Linked DNA regions of Homo sapiens: all the other regions are linked to region 3. Evidence: promoter capture Hi-C in human tissues and cell types (Jung and others, 2019). All regions are on one chromosome and are shown on one strand. The core of a region is centred on a gene start or on the middle of the fragment in contact, and the rest is flanking DNA. Distances in the headings are between cores, read along the strand shown.

Region 1 (2,980 bases), core at 13-2,512, 290 kb before region 3:
ACTTGGATGTGGACCTCTAAAACCTTGAGTGTTTAATAGGACTATCTTTGACTTGTCTTCTTCCTGCAAAATTCCATGTGCTCTTTGGTTCTTTACAAACGGGTGGGATTTTCTCACTCATGCCTCCTCCTTCTTGGGGTACCCAGGGCAGATGGCAGAATTGGCTGCCCTCTTCTCCTGCCTGCTGGGCTCTCCAGTTGCTGCTGGCTCCTGCCTGAGGGTTTCTCTGGTCTCGAGTTCATCAATCTCCTGCAGGTAATATTTTATTCACAATTAGGATTTCTTTCCATTTCTAATGCCAGTTTCCTCCTCTGTTTTAGGTGACCGAGGCCCAAAAGGAGAGAAAGGAGAGAAAGGAGACAGAGCTGGGGATGCCAGTAAGGACATTCTGCTGGGGCCGTGGGATATGGTGTTGGCACAGGGCTAGCTGTCCCCCAAGCAGCCCCATAAGTTTGGAGGTTCAGAGGCTGGAGCCATGGCTGGGGCTCAAGTGTCAAAGGAGGCTCCCTACCTTTTTTAGGGCTCTGCTGGTCTAGCAAGAGATGCTGATAGACCCCAGGGGCACTGGCCACATTTCTAGAGGTGTCATAAACCTGGCGGTTGTGTGCATGGATCTGGAGGCTTCCCCCGGTCACTCGCTAGCCCAGCTGGTATAATCTCTGTGCCTCAGTGTTCTCATCTATAAAATAGGGATAACAGGAGTCTTTACCTTATAAGGTCATTGTGAAAATTGAATGAGTTAATCTGTGTAAAGTGCTTATGATCATGCTGGACACCTGGTGAGGACTCAGTACCTGTTTGTGATTATTATTCTGTGTAATACACCCACTCAGACACGCTTCCTAAAATCATCAGAGGTGCTTGCACAAATTCAGCTACTGACCTTGTTAAAGGCCTCCCCTCCCTGGGTGTTACACAGGGAAAGGTGCAGAGACAAAGTGGCATCGCCTTTGTTTTCCCCATTTGCCACTGATGGAGGAGTGACGCTGGAGAGCTTGCGATCCGGCAGACCACCCTGTTAGTAATGGGCATCTTTCTGATGCGGTCCTTGCTAGAATGTTGACAAGGGGATCAGCTTATTTAGTTGTGCCACTCTTCTAAGGTTTACTTTTCCCCTAGAGAGGGCTACATGTAGAATCTTGGAGACTTGCCAGAGAAGAATGAACAGAGTCTCCTAGCCAAGTTTAAAAAGGAGCAAAAGAAAAAACACCAAACCCAGCATGTGGTGTTAGTTGGCTCTGTCCCACGTGAGGGCGCAAGCAGAATATCACTGCCTCTGGCATCTAGGCTCCGGTCTTGGCTCTGGGAGGATGGGGCCTGGGGAAAGAGTCCCTGTGTTAATAGCTTCCCCCCGGACACTCAGGGACAGGGGCCACTGCAGAGTCACAAGCTGGACACAGAAAGGGGTCTCATGACACCCAAATAAATCAAAGACTATCAGCCCCACCAAAATTCAACGCAATACCACAACCTACAGCACCACTAATAATTAGCCATAGGCCTCCATAAATAGGAGAAGGTTTCGAAGAGAAACCTACAAATCCTACAACCAAAAGGACACTTAAAACAAATAGAGCATATGCCATTATTCCCACATGGGCGATAACCATGACTAATGACATGAAAAATTATTGTTGTGCTTCAACTAGAAGAACACTAATGGCCAAGACCTGCAAAACACACCCGCTAATAAAAATTATTAATTACTCATTCATTGATCTTCCCACACCATCTAACATTTCTATATGATGAAACTTTGGCTCACTTCTTGGTGCCTGCCTAATCCTCCAGATCATTACACGATTACTCTTGGCCATGCAGTACACATCAGACACTTCAACTGCCTTCTCTTCAGTTGCTCATATCAGCTGAGATGTAAACTACAGCTGAATGGTCTGCTATTTTCATGCTTCCTTGGTCTCACTAGGTCCTTCAGATGAGATCAAGCACACTCAGGATGGTATGGTGCAGTAGGCCCTTCACATCACACTTTAGTCCCAGCTGTGCAGGACCAGAAGGAGACCTCACTCCCAAAAAGAGGCCTCCCCAAGGCCCCCTGACACTTAAACTTGCCCCTGCTTTCTCTCTGCCCTGCCCTCCCCTCCCTGAGGCATGATTCAGGATCAAATAGGAGCAAGGCAGGTGACAGCACCTTGTCCTTGAAAGTGATGGACTTGCCCGTAGAAAAACAAGGAAATGCCCAGGCTGATCCTGGACCCCCCACACTCACCTCACCTGAAGTGCTAAAGTCCACAAGGCCATCTGCGAGCTTCACAGTACTTCTAGCATTCTCTAGAGTCCCTTTCCAGGGCTGCTTAACTGGGTGTGTCTGACTGAATGAGGCCATCTAGTAGACCTGATCTGATCCCTTTTGTCTAAAGGGCTGGGTCCTGAATGCTGTCTTCGGGGTGCTGTTTTTCCCTGCTCTGTTTGTTGACTGGTTTCTGACAGAATGCTGCCAAGGTAGCTGAGAAGGATCGTGGCATTTAGTTCTGAGAAATAAACAACTCCTGATGGGGGTGGGCAGGAAGGGAGGAACTATGTGGAAAGATGGCTTTGAGATCAGAAACACTGCCCGCATGCCAGAGGGGCTCTTGTTGGGAATTCTCTGGTGGCTCTTCTTTCAGCAGACTTGAGAGAGCAAGTGAGGAGGTCGAGCCAGCAGGGCGTTCCCCATGCTGTGGAGGATGCGTGGTCTCTATTCACCTTGCTCCTGTGGGCCAGGCTGGTGGGCTCTGTACTGGGGTTGGGCCCTGAGGCCAGAGCTACGGTGCAGGGAGGTGAGAGCCAGAGCCACAGGGGTGCGGGGCTCCCTGGGGATGGGTGGGGAGGCGTGGGGGGAGGCCACCCCCTCCACTTGGCCCTGGAGCCTCTTGACTGTACAGCAAGAGGTGACATCAGCTCTGGACAGCCTCCCCTCAGGGACTGAGGCTTTCTTTCCTGCCTCGAAGAGCTACACCCTCATTGCAGCCCAGAACTC
Region 2 (2,869 bases), core at 226-2,725, 480 kb before region 3:
GGATTAACGATGTATTTATTTTTCATTTTATGTTTTTTGAGGTCACAGATACAGCCTGACCAGCCAGCTCCATATCTAAGTATAATTTTGGTCTGGGAAAGTTACTTAACTCTTTGAATCTCAGCTTCTTCATCTGTAAAATGGAAATGATACCGACTTCAAAATACAAGCTCAATAAATGGTAGCTATTATTCTGACAACAATTACCATGATTAGACCAGCTGGTCAAATGAAATAGGAACAGAACCTGTGAGATACAGAAATAGGAACAGAACCTGTGAGAGAATATTTCAAATTTGAATCCGTCCTGTTGAAAAACCAAAGGTGGAATTGTTCATTGCTAACTCATGATGTAATAAAAATGGGAATAATTGCATGCACAACTCTTACACTGAATCCAAGGATAATTAAGGTTTTTTTAATATCTTAAAATAAGGCTTTAAAAGAAACTCTCTAACACGTCAAATGTGTCGTGAAACAAATCTTAACAAATGAAAAGTCCTACAACCCGTTAAATCGACGTTAACTCCTCGGAGGGCATATATTGGAATAATGGTTTCCCTGCCATTCAAACAAGACACCACGTGACTGCCAAAGAGGAAGAGAGGAAGGGTAGGGTGCTTCAAAAAGCAAAACAGGAAAAACGAGAAGGCTCGGGGACCAGAATGGACACACTGACCCTAGGTGGCGGGGCGACTGGACTGGGTAGCGGATTCTCGCGGTAAAAGTTCGGTTCAGCATTTGATTGCCTGGGCGTTCGCCCCTTTCGGACCACCCCTTTCCCCCATCTCCTTCCCCTTTCGCACCTTTCCGCTTCTGCCTCATTTCTGCGCCGCCGTAGCAGAGCCACCAGAGATAAAAATGCAGCCACAAACTCAGACCACGGGGAAAGCTGACAGCCACAAAACAATCCCGCCTGTCGTAAAATGTCGGTCAATGTATCGTAAAGCTCTTCCCGGAAGCCGACGTGCACAAAGCCACGCCCCGCCCCGTGTTGCAACTAACAGGGTAGCAGGCGGCCCGTGAGGCCCCTAGGCTGCGATCCTGCCCCGGGTCTCAGGGATGGAGGATGGGAACGTCTGAACGGAGTGGCATCTTGGGGTTAGAAAGCTCGACCTGGGCAGTACAGCTATGGGACAGAGTTCCTGGATAGAGGCTGCGCCAGGAAGCCTAAGTGAAAGGGTGGAAGTGGATGGTCTCTCATGGGGGGGAGTGGGAGCCCAGGGTCGTCACATCCGGGGAGGGTGGGTGGGAACGCGAATGGGCGAGACCACGGAGGAGGAACCCTCCCATGTTGTGGAAACTAACTGAGGGCCTGGAAGAGACCAGGCGGGAATCGAGTAAGAATCCGAGGTGCAGGCTTTGGGACCAGGTGGTCACCTTGGTCTTAGATGAATGGCACATATGATCGGTAACCATCGTGAAAGCTGTGGATGTCTCTTGTGGAAGGAAAATAACATCTCGGGACCCTAAACTCTGCCAAAGAAAAAAGTTAAGCTTAGGGCCGGGCGCAGTGGCTCACACATGTAATACTAGCACTATGCCCATCTCAGGAGGCCAAGGCCAGCAGATCATCTGAGGTCTGGCATTCAAGACCACCCTGGTCAACATGGTGAAACCCTGTCTCTACTAAAAATACAAAAATTAGCCAGGCGTGGTGGTGCACGCCTGTAATCCCAGCTACTTGGGAGGCTAAGGCAGGAGAATCTCTTGAACCCGGAAGTGGAGGTTGCAGTGAGTGGAGATCATTCTCTGTTGTCCAGCCTAGACGACAGAGCGAGACCCTGTCTCAACAACAACAACAACAACAAAAAGTTAAGCTTGTGAACTGAGTCACGCAAAAACTGCCTTCCTTCTGTTCCTAAACAGCTGCAAAGACAGAAGCCCACATATCTCCCTAGGTGGCCTCCCAGAGGAGTTGCTCACAGGGAAATTCCTTGTGAGTGGCAGAGTCTTTACCTTACAACACTTCTGTTGAATTCCACCCTGACCATGCAAATTTACAGTAGGTAGGGGACAAGGACAAGACTAGAAATCACCCTTCAGTCCACCCCAAGAAAAATGCATATTTGACTCCTTCCTCTATGTTTACTTTGTCTTCTGTAAAAGGCAGATTTACTGAGTGTGAAATGAATGCATAGTTGTTCCTCTTTCCCCTTCTGTCTGCTCTTTCCCTTTAAATATTGAAGTCCTCAAAACCCTCTTTGGAAAAACCACAGGCCACAGATTCCATGATAACTTATGTCTCTTTTTCCTGGGTGTGTCCTCAACCTTGGCAGAATAAACCTCCAGACTGAGACCTGTCTCAGACACTGTTTGGTTTACGTTCTCCAGAAAAATACACAGGCACAAAATTTTGCAAAATTTGGAGGCAGGACTTGGGATGTTTTCCTGAAACCCATCTATGATCTCCTTTGTCCATGGGCTGGAGATTAAGAACCTCTCCCATTAATAAAGACAGGAATATGTACCCTACTAGAATTGAGGCAACAACGAGGCTTTGACCCCACTATGACACTGAAACTGGCCTTGCTAAGCTTTGTAACTTCCCAGCCTGCCAAGTTCAGTGGTATTTGTCTGACCTCATTGTCATCCTATACCAATGAACATAAGTTCTCCTCTGTAAACCGAAAATAATTCTCAGCCCAGGGCATTCCAAAGTTAAACTGAAAAACTAGCTCAGGCCATGATGGGAAGTGGGGTTGGACATGCCTCCTTATTCCCTCCTCCTTTTTAGAATTCAGGAGCTGCTAACCAGTGTTAACATCAACACAGAGACCTTAAGGCTGATAGAGCACAGAACCGACTCTTAAAGTCTGATAAGAAACATTTACGGCCGGGCGCGGTGGCTCATGCCTGTAATCCCAGC
Region 3 (2,957 bases), core at 284-2,783:
TTTTTTAAGAAAAATAAAGTGTAGCCTCTTCTGGGACATTTTTTTCTTCTTCTGGGTTAATGGCCTTCTAATACTTGGCTTGGCTCTAGGTTAGGTTGCAGGGAGCCGTGGAGATGATCCATTCCCGATTCCTCATCGTCCAGATGGAAGAAACTGAGGCCCAAGGGCAAAGTGATTAGTCCGAGGTCACCCAGTGTCTAGGGGCACACCTAGGACTGTAATCAGACTTTCATGGACCTGGTCTGGGTTCTCCCACTTAGTCATGGGCCTTGAAGATTCCCCGAGGCTGCCTCCTGAAAAGGACTGGGGTCCTAGTGGCCCCTGGACGTTGGGCAAGCAAGGGACTGGGCCTCCATGTTGTGCCTCCATAGTCCTGATCCTGAACTGGAAAACTCAGCCCCTGACCACGCAGCTCTCCTTTAAGCCCCTTTGTTTCACATGGTTTTCAAAGTCTGCCACCCACAGTGGGGCTGCCTGTACCCGCCCTGTCCACCCATTGCCCCAGCTGTCAGCCCCTTGACTTCTCTCCTGGGGCTTAAACATCCCTGGCTCCAAAATGGGCAGCTCACTTTCTTCCCCAAGAAGTAGCTGCACCTCCAGGGTTCCTAGATTTGCCCCTCCTTGCCAGGGGGAGGGGTGGCTGCGACAGGAGATTCTCCCTGCTCTCAGCAGAAGGAACTCCAGCAGTTGGAGACCAGCAAACCCCTCTGGACACAGATCTGATTTCCTAACTGGGAAGGCTCAGGGCAAAATAAAAATTCAGGTCCACTGGTTCAAAAACTATGAAGAATTTCAAGACCGTCACAGTAGCCCATTAAACCAAACGTGGATCTGCAAGGGTCCCACAGCCATGAAGCCCACCCTGCTTGGTTGGGTTCCAAAAAGATGGGGACAGTGATTGCTTAAGCTCTGTGGATCAAGGACCCCGGAGAGGCCTTCTGGCTCTCCACATATCTGCTCTGATCACTCCTAAACACAATTCTGTTTCCTCCAGGCCTGGCGGGTCAGTCCAGGGACCCCCATCAGTGTGATGTTTCCAGGAGTAGGCGTTTCAATACTTCCTGTGCTCTCTTCTCCAGCACAAGGCCCCTCTCCATCCCACCCTCATTATGTCTGACTCTTTACTATTTAAATGGGTCAAGAGAAGTGGCGCTTGTGTAATGTGAAGGTTAAGGTCAGTAGGGCCAGGGAACTGTGAGATTGTGTCTTGGACTGGGACAGACAGCCGGGCTAACCGCGTGAGAGGGGCTCCCAGATGGGCACGCGAGTTCAGGCTCTTCCCTACTGGAAGCGCCGAGCGGCCGCACCTCAGGGTCTCTCCTGGAGCCAGCACAGCTATTCGTGGTGATGATGCGCCCCCCGGCGCCCCCAGCCCGGTGCTGCACCGGCCCCCACCTCCCGGCTTCCAGAAAGCTCCCCTTGCTTTCCGCGGCATTCTTTGGGCGTGAGTCATGCAGGTTTGCAGCCAGCCCCAAAGGGGGTGTGTGCGCGAGCAGAGCGCTATAAATACGGCGCCTCCCAGTGCCCACAACGCGGCGTCGCCAGGAGGAGCGCGCGGGCACAGGGTGCCGCTGACCGGTGAGATGTCCCCGTCTTCCCTACCCTTGAGCAGAGCCACACCAGGACGGATGGGCGGGCAGGGGATGGCAGCCAGGCAGAGAGGGATGACACAGCTCGCAGTCACAACCCCTGCGCTTTCGACGGAGCCCAGGAAGCCAGGGAGGGGAGGTGGCCGGAGCCCCATCACCAGGCAGCTGAGCCAGGGGCCCCGGCGCAACCGCCGCCTGAGAGCACGAGCTCCAACCACAATTCTGTGGTGGGGGGGTAAATAGAACAGATATAATGATCATCCTTTCGCAAAGATGGGGAAACTGAGACCTGGAGACCTGCCGCGTTGCGGGAGACCCAGGCTAGCAGGTGACAGAGCTGGCCTGCACCGAGCTCCTTCCTGCAGCATATCCTCTGCGAAGATGCGGATCTCTCAGTTGTGGCTTTCGGCTTGCATGCATGAGTCATCTAGTTTTCTTCTAAATTCTCTAGCTCTCTGGACACTGTTGCCTGTAAGTATGAGGCTGCGGATTTCAGTATATGCTGCAACCACCGAAATCCGACTTTTTCTGCCTCCTAATGCATCTGAGGTGCATCAGAGAAAAGTCACACAAGATCCACCAGGCCTCAGACCTCTGATTCCACAGTCTCATTTTACAGATGATAATCTGAGGCCTGGAGAGGTTTAGGACTGGTGCCAACACTAAACAGCAAATAAGTATCAGAATTGGGATTCGAGCCAAAGCCTCTTGACCTTCCAGAATTTCTGGACCTAGTTAAAAAAAATATGATTTTTATTATTATTTTTTAAACGGAGAGGTTAGGAATTTAAAGGAAAGTACAGATACTATATAAAAAAAGATGCCCATGAAAATGTTAAGTTATAATAATAGTGGAGCATTGGGCACAACTGAAATGGCCAATCTTGTGAGAATGGTAAAATAAACTTAGGTCCGTGAGTAAGTGGAGTATTACATAGCCATAAAAGTATGCCCTTAAAGAATATTTGAAGATGGTGAATGTGAAGAATCTTGTATAAACTGCATGGAAGACAGAAGGAAATATACCACAGTGCTAACCTTTGCCTCTGGGTGATATGAATTACCGGTGATTATTTTTCTTATTTTCCTTTTGGTTTAGTTTTCTCCATTTGAAGAAGCAGATAGGAGCCGGGGCTTTGGGATTGAAACCCTCACCATCTGTGTGCCCTCTTCACTGTCTTCCCATCCTCCCCACGGCTCCCTGTTCACAGTCATTGATTTTCTTTCTTTCTTTTCTCTCTTTTTTTTTTTTTTTCCTGAGACCAAGTCTCACTCTGTTGCCCAGGCTGGAGTAGAGTAGCGCCATCTCGGCTCACTGCAACCTCCGCCATCCGGGTTCAAGCAGTTCTCATGCCTCAGCCTCTGAGT

What was found. The method cuts DNA at HindIII sites, captures the fragments that hold promoters and counts their contacts. A contact is called where the count stands out against the background at its distance.
Region 1: a contact is called between a fragment that was not itself captured here and the fragment with the promoter of CLU in region 3, in 2 of the 25 tissues and cell types used here (mesendoderm cells and thymus).
Region 2: a fragment that was not itself captured here is called in contact with the fragment with the promoter of CLU in region 3 in 1 of the 25 tissues and cell types used here (hippocampus).

What each region holds. Positions count from the first base shown.
Region 1 is chr8:27,902,175-27,905,154 of GRCh38, reverse strand. SCARA5 (scavenger receptor class A member 5) reads left to right here. Exons shown (of 9, transcript NM_173833.6): 7 at 321-377. It overlaps LOC105379342 (a long non-coding RNA gene), which reads right to left and starts at 2,482. Exons shown (of 2, transcript NR_188147.1): 1 at 2,231-2,482. The HindIII fragment of the contact is 6,484 bases long and covers 1-2,980 here.
Region 2 is chr8:28,091,171-28,094,039 of GRCh38, reverse strand. ELP3 (elongator acetyltransferase complex subunit 3) reads right to left here and starts at 901. Exons shown (of 15, transcript NM_018091.6): 1 at 807-901. The coding sequence starts at 825. RefSeq lists enhancers at 1,226-1,275, 767-1,320. The HindIII fragment of the contact is 3,393 bases long and covers 1-2,869 here.
Region 3 is chr8:27,613,276-27,616,232 of GRCh38, reverse strand. CLU (clusterin) reads left to right here and starts at 1,533. Exons shown (of 9, transcript NM_001831.4): 1 at 1,533-1,578. RefSeq lists enhancers at 1-445, 1,402-1,901 and silencers at 1,290-1,379, 2,935-2,957. The HindIII fragment of the contact is 13,101 bases long and covers 1-2,957 here.